Linked DNA regions of Homo sapiens: region 2 is linked to region 1. The links are contacts of gene promoters, found by promoter capture Hi-C in human tissues and cell types (Jung and others, 2019). All regions are on one chromosome and are shown on one strand. Each heading gives the region's core, a stretch centred on a gene start or on the middle of the fragment in contact. The rest is flanking DNA. Distances are from core to core; before and after follow the strand shown. Region 1 holds the start of ADAMTSL3 (ADAMTS like 3). Region 2 overlaps SH3GL3 (SH3 domain containing GRB2 like 3, endophilin A3).

The links. Contacts are between HindIII fragments. The study calls those that stand out against the background at their distance.
Region 2: a contact is called between a fragment that was not itself captured here and the fragment with the promoter of ADAMTSL3 in region 1, in 2 of the 25 tissues and cell types used here (hippocampus and mesendoderm cells).

What each region holds. Positions count from the first base shown.
Region 1 is chr15:83,651,493-83,655,595 of GRCh38, reverse strand. It overlaps ADAMTSL3 (ADAMTS like 3), which reads right to left and starts at 1,473. Exons shown (of 30, transcript NM_207517.3): 1 at 1,320-1,473. RefSeq lists an enhancer at 2,835-3,004. The HindIII fragment of the contact is 6,298 bases long and covers 596-4,103 here.
Region 2 is chr15:83,609,557-83,613,587 of GRCh38, reverse strand. The region is part of intron 8 of SH3GL3 (SH3 domain containing GRB2 like 3, endophilin A3); the gene reads right to left. Among named protein-coding and RNA genes, the nearest start is that of ADAMTSL3, 43 kb to the left of the region's middle. RefSeq lists enhancers at 41-210, 338-507. The HindIII fragment of the contact is 7,535 bases long and covers 1-4,031 here.

The DNA of each region.
Region 1 (4,103 bases), core at 224-2,723:
TTGCCGCTGCCTACTGCAGGGTGCAGGCTAACTGGGCTCCCTTTAGAAGGTCCACAACAAAGTCAGGCGAGGGCTGGACCTGTCTCCAGTGGGCATCTCATACCTCCAGCTCTTCAGAAGCTGAGATATCCCTGCCCAAGCCTATCTGTCAGCAGCAGGGTGTCGCTATTGGCATTTGACTCAGGAAGCCAGCACAGAGCCAAGGTTTAGGCTAGCTTCTGCTGCTCGCGGCAAAAATGAGTCTAAGACAACAAAGCCGCCCAGAGAGGGAAAGGACCTGCCTAAGGTCACACAGCAAGATAGTGACATTTTAGGGCTGAAACGCAGATCTTCTGATAGTTCAAGGCTTTCCTCGCTAGATGACACCGTGCGCCCTCGAGGTCCGGGACCCACACCCAGAGAGACGCCTGAGAGCTAAGTTCAGGGAGGTTTGGAGGACACAGCCCCTGAGCCAGCCTAACACAATCTCCTAAAAGTAGGTGAGGGCCAGCCAGCAGAGGTCAGCTGAAACCAGGAGGGAAGCGGGGACTTTTTCCCTTACTTTTCCTGTCAATTTACAGGGAAATCAGTATGAGTCGAGACTGGAAAAGCCGAGGTCACACTCGACTCCCGCTTCGCCTCGCGGGCGCCTTGGCGGAGCTGGTGTCCGGGGGCGGGTCGGTGGCTTCTCTCCATCTGGAGAAGGCATTAAGGGCCTGGTCTAATGTGATCCGCAAATGTGCTGCTGTTTCCGACCTGAGGCGGCGACTCCTGGCTGAAGGGAGGCGGCCAGTGCGGGGCCCTGGGACTCTGCGCCACCCTCGCCTGCTCGCACCAGCCTTCCGAGTGCACACTCCTCCGACTACCCGCTGCCTCGAAGTCGCTCCTCCAGTGCCTCCGCCGCGTCCCGGTCACCCCCACGCCCACTTTCCACGATCGCGCGTCGCCTCAACCCCCGGCGTTCTGGGCGCTCGCTACCCAGTGGTCAACCGGCCGGACCTTCGGACCCGCGAGGTTTCTGCTTAGTAACTCCCAATCCTGAAAAACTCCAACCCTGTGGAGTTCCCCCATAATCAAGAACGCCCCTCAGCCCGCGAACTGCCGCCGAAAGACTCTCCCTGAACCTTCCGGGACGGCACGAAGCGCGCCCGACCCGAGGTGCCCAGCAGTGAGGAGCACCCCAGTCCTGAGGCCCCCTGGGGCCCGCGTGGCACGCCCCGACTCTGCTTGGAGACCCCCAACTTGCTTAGAGAGGCCACTGCTCCAAGTCTTACTCCCTCTGGGGAGCGCCTTCCCCCGACCCCTGAGGGGCCGCCCTGCGCCGAGCTCGGTGCACCCACCTTGCGCCGCAGAAGTATCTGGGACGTGCAGCCCCGGGGCCGCGCGGGCTCGGCGCGCGCTGGGGAGAAGTTGGCAGAAGCCGCCCGTCAACACCTCGTGCGGAATCCGGCACCAGGACCTTCCCCGACGCCGGCCTCCAGCCCGCGGCGCCGCAGTCGCCGCCGCCGCCGCGAAGTTAAATGGGGCTGGGACGGGGGCTGCCCCGCCTCTCCCGCCCCCTCCGGGCGCGCAGAGCGCTGCGCTGGCCCCGGCCCAGAGGCGGAGGGCGCGCGCCGCCACCTGCACCGCCCGGCAAGTGCACGGCGCGCCCAGGCGCCCGTCAGCCTGCGCGCCGGCACCGCGCCCTCGGCTTGAGCTGGAGGCGCCGGGGGCGCGAAGAGACGCCGTGTGGGGCCAGGCCCGGGCCGCTCGGAGCGCGCGGGGCCGCGGCGACGGCGGGACTCGGCTGGAACGCTCCTCCGCCCGCTTCCTGGAAGCCACTCCTCGCCCTGGGCCGGCCGCCAGGCGTTGTGCCAAGAGCCGGGATTGCCGACGCCGCCACCGCCGCCGCCGGCAGGCGCACTGGGGAAAGGCGGCCGCTGCGCCGCAAGCCAGCCTGGCCGCCCCGCCTCAGCCGGAGCCGGAGCAGGGATGCCGTCGCTCCCCCCGAGCCCACCCCCGGCCCCACCTCCCATAGCCTCCACCCACCCCGCCCAGACCCGGGCGCCAGCTCTGCAAAGTCAGGCCCAGCAGCCACACAGAGGTTTGCCCGGAACCGCTGGCTCGTGCCTAAGAGCCATAGGCACTCCTGGCCAGGCAGGACCATAGTGGAGACCAATGGCCCTCTCCTGGCCTGCGCCTCCTCCGCGCAGCATAGACGCCACACAAGGGACTGTGGAGCGCTCACTGCCCAGAGGCCTGGGACCTTTGGCAGCCAGGGACCACGAGGATCTTGCAGGAGCGCCTCTTAACTGGGTACCTGGCGCCTCCTTGTCTGAGCCGGGCTTGGGGAACTGAGAGCTCCACAGGTGCCAGAATCATGCCGTGTCCAGGCCTGGGATTTGGGGTTGGGGGGAAGAGTGTCGCGGACAAGAGACTGGGGTGAGTTGCCTGTGTACTTCTGGAGGTGAGGAGAAGTAAAAGGAAATGTTTGTCCCTGTCCTTGTCCTAGTCCCAGCAGGATAAGCCAAGGGCCAGGAGATTGATCTTAAAGGCTGCATTATGCCCCCACCTAAGTCCTACCACAGTCGCCATTTCCTTGGGTGTCTGTCGAGTACCAAGCTCTTTGTGTCTATCTGATCTTCACAGCAGCAGTAGTTCGAGCATTATCCCATTTCACCTAGGATAAATCTGAGGCTGGGAGGATAACTTGCCCACCATGAGTGGAGAAGCCAGGACTGGAACCCCTATCTGCCTCTCTCTAGAGCCTGGACTGTTCACCCCTAAAGTTGTTCTCCTGCCTTCTCTGTGGTTGCTGCGTTCCGGTTACTGCTAGAGCTTTGCCAAGAGCAATTGGCCCTGCCTGCTTTCCTCACTCATTCTTCCCTTACTTACTCTGGTGACTTCCTCTGACCAAGAAGAGGATCTTCAAGGCTGTCTCTCCACTCTATGTAAAATGATTGGACTTGTGGCAAGTGAGCAGAGGACAGGTCAGTGTGGAGACAGGAGAGGTAAGAGTAGCCAGTGAAGGGTAGGGAGGGCTGGGCTAAACTAGAACTAACTCATCTATGGACAATCGATCCTTTTTATTTACTGTAGTTGTGGTCTATAAAGTCACAGAACAACGAATTTGTGAATATGGAGCCATTGTTCCTAGGGGAAATATAGAGTTGGGTTCCTGCAAGCTCACAATATTTTTGTCAATCAATCAACACATTGCCTTATTTTATGCATGTTTCTGTTTAAAGACGCCTTACTTAACATCTATTGTTGATTCCTGAACACTGAGCTCACAGCCTACAGTGCTGTAACTCATGCCTGAATGAAGCTTATCTAACTTACGTATTTTCTCTGCAACACACATCCCAGCCTTCTTCCACTTAGGAACGCTAGACTTCACTTCAGCACTGTGCCTGGGGGGTGCTTTAAGCAGCAAAATCATCAAAAAAAAGACCAAAAAAATGTGAAAACATGGCAATGAAGAGAACTTTTGGGCCACTCATTTACAGTGTGAAAGCTGAAACAAGAAGACAGAGGGTTGACTGGTTGGACCTTAGCTTCCAACATGTGTCTCAAGAGACTCAAAACGTTCAGCACTGGTTCAATGACTTTGAAAGTGCTGCAGCTATTGATTATGAGGTGTTAAAATAAAAACTTTAGACAAATTTAACAGAGGTTAATTGAGCAAAGAACAATTTGAAAATAGGGCAGCCCCCCTCAGCCCCAAAACAAAATAGATTCAGAGCAACTCTGGGGCTTCCACATAGTCAGATAATATTTATGGATAGAAAACGGAATATGATGAACAGAAAACGGAAATGAGGTACAGAAACAGCTGGATTGGTTACAGCTCGGCATTTGCCTTATTTAAACATGGTTTAAACAGTTGACCGCCTGTGATTGGCCAAAACTCTGTGACTGCTTCAAGAGTAGGTTACAGTCTGTTTACACATCATCAGGTTACAGTTTACTATGTACAGAGAGACCTTTAGGCCGAACTTAAAATATGTAAGAAGGCAACTTTAGGCTAAACTTAATTTAACGGAGGTGACAAATAAATTTTACCCAGTAGCTGAATTCACAATAAGGAATCTGCAAATAATGAGAATTGATTTTTCGTGCTTCTCATATCAGAGTATCAGTAA
Region 2 (4,031 bases), core at 744-3,243, 43 kb after region 1:
ACCTGCAATGACCAAAATGCTTAGTGGCAAGCATACATTTGTCCAAGTGTATGCACCACCTCCATGTGTAAACCAGGCCACCACCTCCATGTGTAAACCTGGGTTCTTGCTGCACACACACACAGAACAAATCATGGAAAAGCTGCATTACTCACTTCTCATGTCATTCATTCTTGGCAAGGAACCACTGCCACATTGCCCACTTTGATATTCTGAGAGCTGGAAAGAGACCAGCACTCATATCACACTCCATCAGCACCTAAACCCAAGGCAGGGCATCTCTCCAGAGACCACTGAGTAGAAAGACCCTGTTCAAGAACTCCCTGACTCAGGCAGTACAAGTGCACCTGGCCCTCCAGCCACCACTGGGCTGGCTACAACACTAAGAGCAATTGGCACTTGCTAAGTAGGCAGTTGGTAAATCCACCCCAACCAGAGCTCAGACTGGCTGCCCTGAATTATACATGCAGCCGGACGATATTCTGAAGTATCAATGCATTTTTCATTCTGGGTCATTTCTGTTGCCTGGGGCCCTCAACCCAAGGAGCTGGGGCTTGCCTCCCTTACTTGAGGAGGAGGGTGGAACCCAGACATGAACAAAGCAGTCAATGTTTAGCTTTTAAATTCCCAAATAATACCATTTCAGTTGTGAAACATTGTGAAAGCCAAGGCTTTTAGGCTTTCATGCTAGAGCCAGGTAGGCTTTTATAAGATTTAAGAGCGAGAGAGAGAGAGAAACTTCTGGGTTCCAAGAACTAGAGCTTGAAGAACTCAGAGCCTAGCATTTTGATTACAAGCCATGGAGAGGGAGGAGCTGTTTCCTGCCATCCAGAGAAGAGATACAAGCTCTTTCTGGAGGCAGGGAAGCAGGGAAGGGGCCTGCAGTGAGAAGAGGGTGAGCAAGAAAATTGAAATGCTCCTTGGATGCCACCCTGGGGAAGGGGGTCTTAGACTCCACTTTCCACAGAAATCCCGGGAGAAGGCAGCTGTCAAAGTTCTCTGGACTAACACGGGGGCTGGAGCCCAGTGGAAACCATGTGGTGTCACTAAGTACAGATGGGGCCTGAAGGCTGGTCGCTCCCTGTGAACTGTGAACAAATTCCCTCAAGTCCCCAGCAGGAAGTGCTGAGGGGCCACTGAGGCCAGAGGCTGCCTGGGGGCAGTGACACACGGCTCCAAATACAGAGATTCAGCAACCCAGAGAGGGAGGCCTAAGCCACAGATGTCAGCACAGATCCTGGCCCAGGCCCCAGGCCTCCTGTGACGAGTCACCTCAGCTGTGGAAGTGAGCCTCCCTACCTGCCACCATGATGTTCTGTAAACCCCCCTCACATCTAGGCAACATCTTAGGACTGGACCAGGGGGAGGAGAGAACCTTCAAGAAAAACCAACAGCCCTGATAGGGAATTTCTACTCTGAATTGACTGTGTTTAAATCTGGAATCGCCTAAGTCATAAACGGATAGTCTATGCTTTCTATTGGAAGAGACTGAGCTACCTTGAAATGGCAAGATTATGCTTTTTTCCACCATTAGAAGAAATGGAAAAAAGATTTTAAAGCTTTTTTTTTTTTTTGGTCAACAACAGAAATGGAAAAAAGATTAAGTTGTTTCCGCCATTGGTCTACATAGAGGCTTGCAAGCAAGTTCAGTTCAGCTAAAGAGAAATTAAGTTGCTGCCCGCCTGAGGGACAGTGTGTGAATTTTCCCTTGACACAAAAGTCACCATGGATGGAGCCCCAAAGTCCAGGCAGAATGGGCTGGATTTCCTCAATGGAGGCTTTCCAACTGTTAGATATAAGCCTCTCCAAGGGACCTGAATGCTTGGTTTCCCACCATCAGAAGCCAGCACCTCAGCTGAAAACGTCTCGTAAGAAAAGACTGATCCTACCCAGCGTCCCATCCCTGTTGACAACCCCTTCCCCTTGCCCCTGTGGTCCTGCAGCTGGCAGTTCCTCATCCACCTCCACCTCCTTGCTCTCTCACATTCAGTAGCTGGCACCTGGAATCGCTGGGCATAGTTGTGTAGGAGCTCCCAGGTGGCTGCTGTGGATCTCGGTGTCCTTGAACAGGCGGCTGAAACCCCTGACCCTGGGCTGTCCAGTGAGACGGCTTCAGCCAGCACTGCCCTCCCCAAGTGGCCTTGTGTTGATTTTCTCTTACTCCTGAGACCTGGCTTCAACGAAACGTGAGAGCAGAGGTGGGAAAACACAGTCTTCCTTGTTAAAGTATTGAAACAAAGATTATTTTAACAGAGAAAAGGGAGTGTCCCTGTTAAATATTTATTATTCAAGCTCTGTTCCACACCATTAGGAAAAAGAGAAAGAGAGAGAGAGAGAGAGAGACCCTACCACAAGAGTTTAAGACGGCTGGTCAGTAAGTACTGTATCAGTAACACAGTAGGAGGTAGGAAAACCACGTCCCCCCTGAAATAAACTGAACTTCCCCCTTGGCATTAATATGGTTCAGTCCCTCTTATTTTAACAGCAGGAACATTATTTGCGGTGCCCCTCCCCCAACTCCACTTATTTTGTCTCTATATATATATATAGACACACACACATACATTTATACACACACACATACATATTATATATATATATATATATTTTTTGGCTGAAGTCCCTGCTGCTGCAAAGGGTTACTTGCATATGCAGAAATGCTGAGCACATTTTATTAAGGTAGAGGCGGTCCAATCCTACAATTCCTCAGCCCTACTCAGCTACAGGGACGAAATAATAACTCTCAGGTGTTAGTGTTTACCATGTGCCAGGACAATATTTTAAGTGTCTCAGAGATATTAGTGGATTTATGGATTTAATTCCCAGAGAAATCCTATGAGTAGGTACCACTATTTCCCCCAATGTGAGGGATGGAGAAATTGAGGACACAAATTTAACACAATTAAGCCACAACACTGAGACTTGACCTCGGGCCAGGTAGAGAGTCCACGTTCTTGATCCCTATGCAATATACCCCCTGAAAATTGTTAGTTTGTGGTCTTATCCCCACTCTTTTTCTTTTTCTTTCTTTTCTCTTTTCCTTTTCCTTTTTTCTTTTTTGAGACTGTCTTGCTCTGTTCCTCGAGCTGCAGTACAGTGCCCTGCTATTGGCCTGCAGCCTTGACCTCCTGGGCTCAAGCAATCCTTCCACCTTAGCCTCCTGAGTACCTGGGACTACAGGCACCATCATGCCCGGATAATTTTGGTATTTTCTATAGAGGTGGGGTCTCACTATGTTGCCCAGGCTGGTCTCAAACTTCAGGGCTTAAGTGATCCTCCTGCTTTGGCCTCTCAAAGTGATGGAATTACAGGCATGAGCTACCACGCCCAGCCTTCTCCCACACCATTTCTGAGCCAATCCCATTCAATGGGGTGGCCCATCAGCTGGGCTTGGAATGAGCCTTTGGGTCCTCAGCTCAGCATACCTCAGGATGCTCCCAGGCCTTTGAAGGCTCTCTAAGAGCATTCTCTACCTAAATCCTACGCAGATCCCCAGGAAGGTCTGTCCAGGTCCCACCTAGCCTTGCCTGTCGCACTTGAGGGATAACTTCCAGGCACTTAGTCTCTGTCCTGCCTTCTTCAGCCTGAGTTCCAGCTTCAAAGTGAGCAGCTCAGGCTTCAGTTAAAAACAGTGCCCACTCCAGGTGGTGGATTAGACACCAGAGTAGAGATGGCATCAGAAGGGACTGGCGTGTCTGCAGCCTGGCCTTCTCATTTTCTCTCTCTCTCTCTCCCACATGCCAGGATCTGGAAGCCTGTTCTCCAGGGCTCCATCTCTAACCCTGACTTTAAGGGAGGTGAAGGTGGAAAGAGTGGTCAGTGGCGCAAGGGGCATCCTTCTCTCTGTTGCACTAAAACTCACAGCTCTTTTGTGGAACTTGGGTTCTTTTCAGACCACCGAAGGAGCCCACTGTGCTTGCTCCTTTGCTGGCCTTGACTTTGGGAACTTCATGACCTGGAAGCATTCGGTCAGAGCATCCCCACTGAAAGGCAAACTATGACCCCACCCCCATAGTTATTTCAAGGGGCAA